Linked DNA regions of Homo sapiens: region 2 is linked to region 1. Evidence: promoter capture Hi-C in 16 types of primary human blood cells and fetal thymus (Javierre and others, 2016). All regions are on one chromosome and are shown on one strand. The core of a region is centred on a gene start or on the middle of the fragment in contact, and the rest is flanking DNA. Distances in the headings are between cores, read along the strand shown.

Region 1 (5,440 bases), core at 2,108-4,607:
CCACAGCAGAGTTACTGTCATCCTGAGGAGAGGATGCTGAAGTTCAGAGAGGTCAAGCAATTGCCCAGAGTCACACAGCTGTCCATGTCCATGCCTGGCACAGAGCCCAGTGCGGCTAGGGTCAGCCCATTGCCCTTTCCCTGTACTAGGCTCAGGCTGGGGTACCTTGATGCACCCAGCAAAGCTCTGACTTAGAGGACACTATTGGATTTGTAAGCATTAGCCTCTGTAAGAGCGTGGGCAATAGGGGATGCCTCTCCAGAGTTCAGGGAATAGCCGCAGCAAAAGCATTCCCCCGGGGAAAGCACTGTAATTCAGCACTTGAGTTCCATAGTCGGAGGAGATGAGGTTAAAGTCCTGTTCGTGCCCCTACTAACGGTGTGATCTTGGGTAAGTCAATAAAATAAGTTTGGCCAATAAAATGAGAATCATAACACTTTGCAGGCTGCGAGGATTAGATCAGAAAACGTATCCACGGTGATCAGCCTATAGCATGATCCTTTACACATATTATTTTTATGCAGGTGACTGAAAACCAGGGAATCAAACAGTGGGAAGTCCCAGAATAGGGGGACCAAAAGGCGGGATGGGGCATCCTAGCTGCTCTCCGGGTCCTGCCCATTGTTCTGAAGTCTGGAGAAGCAGCAGTTCTCTGATCCCGAAACCTAGCGGGTCCAGGGCTGGTGGAGCTGACGCCCACACCCCTGGGTCCGGGGCTGGCGCTGGGCTGGACCGGGGCTCATCTGCAGCCCTCACGCTCTCCTCGGTTCCGCAGCCATCTGGGCTTCCGAAGAGGTGATGGAGGCCGGCCCCAGGGGCGCCGCTGTGGGAAGGAGTCCGACCGACTGGCAGGACGCCTGCCACCGAGACCCCAAACTCTGGCGGCCCGCGCTTGCTCAGGCTGGAGCGCGTCGCGGCAGGCGCGTCCCACGGAGGTCGTGTGGCCAGCCCCAGGTCACACCAGCGAACCAGCACAGAGGCCAGGCCCAGAGCCCACCGCCACGCCACCGCCACAACGCCTCCCACCCCCGGGCCCTGCCGCCGTTCCCAGCAGAGGTGACGGACGCGCGGGGTGCGCCGAGGGCGTCCCGTCTGGGTCTGGGAGGCCCGCCCGCGCCGCGGAGCCTCGGAGGAAGGTCTGGAGCCGGGGCGGCCGTACCTTGCGTAGGCCACTGAAGGGAACGTCCAGAGGCAGTGAGAAGAGGTTCTCCACGAGCTGCTCGAAGGTCCGGGCCAGCGTGGCGCACTGCGCCTCGTCCAGCCGCAACCCCAGCAGGATGCGCGCGGCCATGCGGAAGGTGAGCGCTTTGGAGGCGTCGTAGACTGAGACCGGCCCGCCCGCCGCGCACCAGGAGCGCACCTCATGCCGCAGCGCCCCCTGCAGGCGCGGCACGTAGCGCTCCAGCGCGGCGCGGCTGAACACGCGCGCCAGGACCTGTGGGAGCGCGCGTGATCAGCGCTGGCGGCGGTCTGGCCTCATCTGCTTGGCGATTCCGGAGTAGCCAGAAGGCCAGTTCCGGTCCTTTCTCCCTCTTCCAAGCGGCCCAGACCTAAACTTCCTGGCTTTTGCTTTCGCCATTTCCCCCAGTTCTGCTCTGATGCACACAGTCCCTCCCAACCATCCAGGCTCCAGCTGCCATCTCCTCTAAGAAGTCTTCCCTGGCCCCTTTCTAGGTCTGAGTCTCCAGCGCTTCTGCTATCACAGCCACGGAAGATGGGAGATGAAAGAATCTTTTAGCGCAGTCCTAACTTTATAAACCGAAGCTGAAGGTAACGGACCCGCCCAAGGCCACCCGCTAGTTACCAGGGACCTTGGTCGGGTTCACAGTGTATCCAACACCGGGGCCCCGGCCTGGCCCATGGCAGATGCCGGGGACCGCGGATCCGACGTATCTACGGTCCATTCCCGTTTCCACTCACCTTGCGCCGCCGCCGGTGCGGCTCGCCGACCGCACCTAGCAGTGTGTGCGAGCCCAGCAGGATGTGCGCACTCTGCGGCCACTGGCTGCGCACCAGGCGGTGCTCGCCCAGCAGGATGGTGCGCACGTTCTCCGCGCCGCTCACGCGGATCACTGGCCTGCCCAGCAGGTGCGTCTTGAACACTGTCCCATAGCGCTCTCGGCGAGAACTGTGGAAGCGCGAGCCCTGCGGGCGAGGCGGAGGGTGGAGAGCTGGAACTTCTGGGCCTGGGCTGGGATCTGACCCAGACCTTCCAGCTGCCTTTTGATCACAACTTCCTGTCCCTGGCTGGCGCGTTTACAAAACAAGATCCCCAGTGGGCCTGGTATCTACTCTACGGGAATGTACATGCTCCTGTTCCTATTGGTGAGATGAGGAAACAGACTCAGAGTGAAGAAGTGAGGGCCCAAGGGCTCACAGCTGGGCCAAGCTCCAGGCTCCTTTTCTACCCTTGCAGGACGTGCTCCTCAGACCCCTTCCTAAAACCCCTTATGTTTACCCCCTGCGTTGTGTCTGGGAGTTGCTCTGGGGGGAATTCCAGTGACTTGAGGTCCCTTCGAGGGAACGGAGTATCTAGGTAAAGGCGAGAGTTGTGCGCGCTTCCCGGGGTCGTGGGCGATGGGCAGGGACTGGCTACAAATCCCATGGGCATTGAGACTGAGGAGGGTCCAGTGGGAGCCGGGGGAAGAAGGGACCGTATTAGCGCTCGGGGTCGAAGGACTGCTCACCTGAACTAACCAGTGCAGCGTTTCGCCGAAGAAGGGCCACCCCATGGAGCCCTTGGGCAGAGGCAGGGTGGAGGCCCGGTCCCGGCTCAGCATCCAGCGGAGGGTCCAGAGGTGCTGGGCCAGGCTGAGCAGCAGGCCCGCGCACAGGAGAGCAGTGCCCGCCGCCCCCAGCACTGACAGGCAGCTCAGCCCCCAAGGGAACATGATGAGCCCGCGGGGGCCAGGCCGCTCAGAGCGCAGGGAGAGCAGGGGACGCAAGAACCGGGGCGCGAGCAGTGCGCAGTGCTCACCTGTTCCGTCCGCAAAAGGCCTGGGGTTTGGGGGCAAAGCCCGAGATTTATAAGCTCAGGCCAGAACTCTGTTCTAAAAACAGACGGACGGTGAAAGACTGCAGTGACCGTGCGCCCTTAGGGAACGTGCCTTCCTCGAGGCCGGCACGCTCAGGACTTTTTCCTGGCTCCTGGGCCCAAATGCCAGTCCCTCTCGAAGGTGCCTGCTGCCTCGGGAACGCTCACTCCCGGCTCCGCGGGGCACCTCCCACCTCCTCCCGGGCTCAGCACCCTTTGGATAGAAGAAGGGAAGGAGGGCGAAAGAAGAGCAACTCACCAGTGTTGCCAACCTGGTCTGCAGACCCCCGCCCCACCTGTCCCTCCTCCAGTCGTTTAACCCTTCTTGGCCCACGCTGGACACGTTTATATAGATATTGGCTCCCCCCCTACGGACCGATCCCGGTTCACACAACGTGACGTGTCTTTGCATATTTAAAGCGCTCCACGCAGAGTGGTGATTGGAGGCGGTGGGCAGCGGCGCGCTCACGGAGGGGCTCTGAGTAGGGAGTGGCAGGCGCCGGGGCGGCTCGAGCTGGGCTGGGGGCTCGCCCCGCGAGCGTCCTCGGGCGGGGCCTGCGGGTTCGCGCCAGAGCTTCCCCGCTCTTCGCAGGCGCTCAGAAAGTGGGCGAACCCAACGCGCAGAACTGACCCGGGCTTGCGCCCCGCAGTGCTCCTGGCCCACCCCCGGCCGCTGGCTCCCTCTGCCGTCCCCGCCCTCGAGCTTCTAGGTGCCTTTCTCTCGCCACTCCAAGGTGAAAGAACTGGGCTTTTCTCTCCTTTGCTCCGACTATTTCAGGGAAACTGCAGTCGTCGACGCCTGCGTTGGCATCGCAAAAGCCCAGGAGGGATAGCGCAGCCGAGATTCTCCGACAGCTCCCCACCTCTCCCGGCTCTCTGATCTACCACGTCAGGTATCCTTCCAAAGATGGCAGTTCCACTACTGCCCTAGGCTTCATAAAGACGTCCTAAGCCTCCAGAAGCGGATACCCACGAGCACCTTTCCGGTCTCAAGGACCGAATTCATCCTTCCCTGCACATCCTTCCCTCCCTCCCCCGAGTTTGCCCGACGACTCTTGTCAATCTACATTGTTGCGTTTTGGGCTTTGTGCGTCCCATTCAAGGGTTCCAAATGCCTCAGGACTCACTCGTTCTTGTCCCTACAGTGCAACCTGGGGTGTGTGTGGAGGGGTGCAGGGTGTTTATATTATTGGTAAGAGTAAAGAGGTCCCACAGTGGTCTCCTCCAGGCAGTGCAAAGGCAGTATCTCTCTGAATCCCGGGACGTCTCAGCCAAAGCAGGGAAGACACCCCAAGTACGCTGGAAGGCTGGGTAAGGCGCGAAGGGCAGCCCCATTCCAGTCTTCAAAGAGAGCTAGCTGTTCACCGCTCCTCTCCTCCAGATTTCACCGTGCCTGAAGAACTACCATGCTTTTCATGTAATATTTTTAAAAACATTAAATACTTTGGATTAAGAGATGATCGAGAGAACAAGTGCGCATATGTATATATATGTGTGTGTGTGTGTGTGTGTATGTATATATACTGTTTTGGTGCCACTCCCATTCCAGTAACTAGGAAATAATATGCCTTTTCTCCAGGAAGCACTTGTTTTAAATCAGTAAGCTCTGAATAGACAAAATAGTAATGCATTTTCAACAACTTGCTCAATATTTTTAATATTTCATCACAAAATCCAGAGATGTACATATAATTCTTTACACTTATTTTACAGAATCAGGCATAGTTTCTTACAGGCCTAAATCCTGAAAAGGCAAAGGGAAGATTCAGCATAAATACAACAAAGGGAGAATAAAGACTGGATTTATATTGCCATTTGGACCACGGAAACATACACAAAGGAAAATGTACATTTGTTTTAGGTTTTCCAGAGTTCATTTGGTTTGGCTTGTTTCCACAATGAGGATAAAGTACTGAAATCTGCTATTTGAAGAAAGTAACCTGACCCCTGTGGTAACTTCTGTGTGCAGGAACCATCTACCCTCGCACAAGCTGCACCTGAAGTGGTTAGCCCCATTTAGTTCCTGTCCTCTCTTTTAACTGGAACCAAACCAAACCAAACAAATCCAGAATGGGGTCACCTACAAGCAATATAGTTAGAAATATTAACCCTGATGAACAGAAACAACACTGCATCTTTAGAAAATCCAAAACCTTTTGTTCATATTCAGAACGATTAAATTAAACCACCCAAGTAGAACAAATAATTCACATTCTTACTGAGTTAAATCAAGTTTGATTTCAGGCAGCTTTTAAGATTTGTCTATTTCCCCTTCAGAATTAGCAGAATTAGAAATTTTGGTCTGCTTAAATCACATTGAGGTGAAAATAAAAGCTAAAAGTCAGAAAATGGTAGTGAAATACTACCATATCAGACATGATTGAATTCCAAAGCCATATACTGATC
Region 2 (5,440 bases), core at 863-3,362, 450 kb before region 1:
TGGCAGGGATTGTAACCAGTTCATTTCACACCAGAGGACTTGCTATAAATCCAGAGCTCATAGTAATCTGAACTTCGAAGAACCTATAACAGTATCAGCAAAGCTCATTTTTTCAAGAGTGGAATACAGATTTCTGATTACTATTTGGAGAACAACACAGTAGCTCTTAAAATGATCTATTATGCATAGATAAAATTCTTCTATTTAATTTCAATCTGACAATACAATATAGTGTTTCCTTTTATAGCAGCCACTCTTTCCAGACCTCTAGTTCCACAATGAAGAGGACATAAGGAGCTTAAAGGTTTTGGGTGTCTATCAGGGCAACTGCTTTCCGGTAAGAATTTCCATCCTTTAAAGACATTGATTGAGTCCCATATCCAGAAAGATCTACATGTATGGAAACTCTTATTAAGTCTAGAGAGTTTCTCTAAGCTTTGTTAGGCTCTTTCTACTAGCACCCTACAAACTCTTGAGCAAAGCTCCTGGGTATGGCACTTAAAGGATTTTCAGTGTCTGTTTGCTATAGAATTAGCAAATGAATTAGGAAGACAGAAACAGTCTCTAAAATCAAAGACTTAGCCCAGGAGCCTCAGCCACTTTACCAGACACTTTTCTCTCTGCATCCATTAGGGAACAGTAGTCCTCTTTACATGGCTTAAGAGTCCATTTGTCAAGTGGAGATATTGTATATCCATTTTGTATTATATATCGTCAATAGTGTAAAGCTCTGTGGATGGCTGTTTTCACTGTAGTAATTTGATTTTTGATTTAAAGAGTCTGTCTTATTGAAACTTCGTGGTAGATATATGATTGTTCAATGTATTTTCTTTTAACTTTTGTGTATGTTTGACATTTTTCGTAATAAAAATTGGGAAAAATAATCATAAAAGTTGGGAAAAATAATCAGTGAACTTAGTACAGTTGAGAAGATTGCTAGGATTCTTGGCCTATCTTAAAACAGGCTGCAGTAGTCACTCTCTTATTCAGCTCCACTGCCATCCCCAGTGAGGTTCTTACTCAGAACCTATGCATCTTTCAAAAGAAAGGACTCATGAGAAACCCAGGATCAGATTTAAATTTACTTGATAAGAGAGGAAGCACTGTATGACTCACAATGCACATGTATATCCAAATACCTATAAATTATAGTGTGTTAGATACTAAAGATACCTAATTTTATACTAAATTTTACATTTGTCCACATTTAAGTAGTATTTTAATACAAATAATTTAAGTCAAAATTAAATGGTCATGAAATTTTTTTTTTTTTTTTTTTTTTTGAGACGGAGTTTCACTCTTGTTGCCCAGGCTGGAGTGCAATGGTGCCATCTTGGCTCACTGCAACCTCCACCTCCCGGGTTCAAGCGATTCTCTTGCCTCAGCCTCCCGAGTAGCTGGGATTACAGGCATGCGCCACCACACCCAGCTAATTTTGTATTTTTAGTAGAGATGGGGTTTCACCATGTTGGTCTCAACTCCTGACCTCAGGTGATCTGCCCGCCTTGGCCTCCCAAAGTGCTGGGATTGCAGGCATGAGCCACTGAGCCCGGCCAATTTTTTTTTTTTTTGAAACGGAGTCTCGCTCTGTGGCCCCGGCTGGAATACAGTGGCATGATTTCAGCTCACTGGAAACTCTGCCTCCCGGGTTCCAGCAATTCTCCTGCCTCAGCCTCCCGAGTAGCTGGGATTACAGGCGTGTACCACCACGCCCAGCTTTTTTGTATTTTTATTAGAGACGGGGTATCACCATGTTGGCCCAGCTGGTCTCGAACTCCTGATCTCAGGTGATCTGCCCTTCTTGTCCTCCCAAAATGCTGGAATTACAGACGTGAGCCACTGCGCCAGCCCAATTTTATTTTATTTATTTTATTTTTCTTTTCTTTTAAAGGAACCAGCTGGGTGCAGTGGCTCACGCCTGTAATCCCAGCACTTTGGGAGGCCGAGGCGGGCATATCACAAGGTCAGGAGTTCGAGACCAGCCTGGCCAATATGGTGAAACCCCGTCTCTACTAAAAATACAAAACATTAGCCAGGTATGGTGGCGGGCGCCAGTGGTCCCAGCTACTCCGGACGCTGAGGCAAGAGAATCACTTGAGCCCAGGAGGTGGAGGTTGCAGTGAGTTGAGATTGTGCCACTGCACTCCAGCCTGGGCAACGGAGCGAAACTCCATCTCAAAAAAATAAATTAATTAATTAAAAAAAAAGGAACCATACATCACTTAAGTATGAGAAACAAAAATACATGTTAGTTGAAGATTCAAGGGGTAGTATTCTAAAAGGCCACATGATGGCGATGTTCCCTCAATAAACATTTCCTTATGCCACCTCTTCTCACTGTGTGCATCGGCTTTCTATCAGTATCAATACACGGAGTTGATAGCTATCATAAATATTGATTGTATTAGTTTTGAGTTTTTAGAGTCAAACATCATTGCATTAGATATGCCTTCCAGCTTTGTGTCATCTATACGTTTGTTAGGCATGCATTTAACAATTTCCTCCAAGTTACCAATAAAAATGTAGAACAAAAGTGGGCAAAATAACATGTCCTGTGGAGTCCGGGCATGGTGGCTCACGCCTGTAATCCCAGCACTTTGGGAGGCTGAGGCAGGCAGATCACGAGGTCAGGAGTTCAAGACCAGCCTGGCCAACATGGTGAAACCCCGTCTCTACTAAAAATAAAAAAAAATTAGCCAGGCGCAATGGCAGGTGCCTGTAATCCCAGCTACTCTGGAGGCTGAGGCAGAAGAATCGCTTGAACCAGGGAGGCAGAGGTTGCAGTGAGCTGAGACCGTGCCACTGCACTACAGCCTCGGCGACAGAGTGAGACTCTGTCTCAAAAAAAAAAAAAAAAAAAGTCCTGTGGAATGCTATAAAGGTCTTCGCCCAGGTTTGACAAGAATCCACTAAATATTCTGTAGACAAAAATTCCAACCAACGTAGATTAAAATGTTAGCCTATACTGGAGGAATAAAAAATGTGGGTCAATTGACAAAACTGCAGTAGGAATGGTAGATTATAGAAGTATTGTATCCATGTTAAATTTATTAAAGTTGCTATCTGTGCTATAGTTGTGGGCAAGAGTATCCTCGTTCTTAAGAAATACACATTGAAGTCTACGGCCATACCACCCTGAACGCGCCTGATCTTGGCTGATCTTGGAAGCTAAGCAGCGTTGAGTCTGTTTAGTACTTGGATGGGAGAACAAACACACATTGAAGTATATGGGTTTAAACGGCTGTGGATATGTACAATTCATTCTCAAATGGTTCAGAAAAAAATACTACATGTATATGTGTGTGGGTGAGGGTTGAAAGAGGAAAAACAGAGTGCAAAATGGGGTAACATGTTAACAACGGTTGAATTTTAGTAAAGGGGATATGGGCGTTATATGTTATTATATGTTATCATACTCATTCTTGTAACTTTTCTGTTAATTTGAATGTTTGCAGACAAAATAATTTTAAAACAATTATTATTTATCTTCCCTAAGTTCTATGCTTAAAATTCGGATATTTGAATTTAAGAGCAAGAAACGCCTATTAAAACTGTCTTTTGGCTATTTGGTTTGTCTAGTTTATACTAACATAATGCTTAAATAAATACTAAAAGTACTGACATTTGACAATGCTTACGACATTAACTCTACGTAATTATTTCAACTGTCGGCCAGAGCGAAATGGTAACTGAACAATGATACAACTGGGCCTAAAGAAGCTGTACGTAGCTTTTAGGGCTTATTTAAATATAACAAATACTAATTCTGAAAATACGTGGGTAAGCTTCTACAGGAAGTTTCTGCGAACTTTGAGAGGGTGATGGAACTAGAACTGCTGAGCTCTCAAAAGCCAAATAATGTGCCAGTGTCGGTGCTGCAAGAAGTGAGATGTCTCTTTCCATGTTCCCTAAGTCCTCCAACTACAATTTTCCCCCTGGTCTCAAAGATTTGCTGAAATTCCAAAGGGAAAACCAGAGCTAAACCACTTCTTGCTCCTCAAATATAAGTTCTGGCTGGGTGTAATGACTCACACCTGTAATCCCAGCACTTTGGGAGGCTGAGGCAGGTGGGTCATCTGAGGTCAGGAGTTGGAGACCAGCCTGGCCAACATGGCGAAACCCTGTCTCTACTAAAAGTACAAAAATCAGCTGGGCATGGTGGCACGCACCTGTAATCCCTGTTACTCAGGAGGCTGAGGCATGAGAATCACTTGAAACCAGGAGACGGAGGTTGCAATGAGCCAAGATCGCGCCACTGCACTCCAACCTGAGTGACAGAGTGAGACTCCATCTCAAAATAATAATAATAATAATAATAATAATAATAATGTTAATGGTTCTCAAAGCGTGGTCCAAGGGCCAGCAGCAGCAGCAGCTAGGAGTTTACTGGAAATGCAGAAAACTCAGGCACTACCCCAGACCTAGTATATTAGAGTCTGTGAATCTTGCTCAGTCTAGACCACCATTTGTAGAAGAGTTGGGTTAAATTTTACCCCATTTGTATAAACGCCTTTCTAAGACAGAGGAGACAAGCACAATGTGACCCTTAAATAAGCTGAGAAGATAGAACAAAAAGCTTGGGCTTACATATGTAGTATTTCAAAGTTAATTTCATAAAAAAGAATCATCATTATCTAAAAATACCCTCAGGTGATATCTGAAGCAGTTAGCACTGAGATGCCTAAAAAGCACATGTAAGCTTAAGATAATGGCATCTATTTTCAGGTACTTTTCTAGAAGAGACACCAGTAAAATTCAAGAAACTTCCCAAGATTCCATCCAGTCATTCTTTCAAATGTTCTAGACACTGAGGATATAGCAATGTACAAAACATGCAAAAATCCTTCCTTCATATGACTTCTATTCTGATGGAAAGGTTGAACATTAAACAAGAGAAGTTAAATAGATTGTAAATTTAGCTGTAGAATGTGATGAGGAGGGAAAAGCAGGAGAAAAGAATAGGAATTGTCTGGGAGCTATAATTTTAGACAAAGTGGTCAGGCAGCCCCCATTCTGTCCTCCCCCAACCCCAAGAAAGTGGCATTTAAATAAAAACCTGCATGAGGTAGGGAGGAAATCATGAAGATATCTGGGGAAGAGTGTCCCAGGCAGAGGGAACAGAAAGAGAAAAGGTGGTTTATTCAAGGAGTAGCTGGAAAGCCATTGTGGTGCAGGTGGAGTAAATAAAGTGGAATGCAGGAGCTGTGTAAGATATTTCTAAATATGTGCATCTAATGCATAGGTATGGATATACATAGAATAACAAACTTCAGTGTAATAAGACATAGAACTTTTCCTTTTCATTCCAGTTACCTCTAGGTAAATTACGTATTCTGATAAGAGTACTTGGCACCTGGCTAGACATCCAGGAGATTTAAATTCTTCTTTTGAAGATCAAAAAGACTTCAAAGGATACTTGATAGATGAAGTAAAACAGAAA

What was found. Contacts are between HindIII fragments. The CHiCAGO score rates a contact against its expected background, and 5 or more counts as called.
Region 2: a fragment that was not itself captured here is called in contact with the fragment with the promoter of CYP26C1 in region 1 in 4 of 17 cell types (endothelial precursors, M2 macrophages, M1 macrophages and 1 more); the score reaches 10.5 in endothelial precursors.

The regions. Positions count from the first base shown.
Region 1 is chr10:93,058,715-93,064,154 of GRCh38, reverse strand. CYP26C1 (cytochrome P450 family 26 subfamily C member 1) reads right to left here and starts at 3,357. Exons shown (of 6, transcript NM_183374.3): 1 at 2,688-3,357; 2 at 1,921-2,145; 3 at 1,160-1,435. The coding sequence starts at 2,891. It overlaps EXOC6 (exocyst complex component 6), which reads right to left. Exons shown (of 22, transcript NM_019053.6): 22 at 4,665-5,440. RefSeq lists enhancers at 1,177-1,346, 1,357-1,476, 2,430-3,339. The HindIII fragment of the contact is 6,240 bases long and covers 1-5,440 here.
Region 2 is chr10:93,508,358-93,513,797 of GRCh38, reverse strand. The region is part of intron 4 of CEP55 (centrosomal protein 55); the gene reads right to left. It also overlaps the pseudogene RNA5SP323. Among named protein-coding and RNA genes, the nearest start is that of CEP55, 14 kb to the right of the region's middle. RefSeq lists a silencer at 2,152-2,446. The HindIII fragment of the contact is 3,350 bases long and covers 438-3,787 here.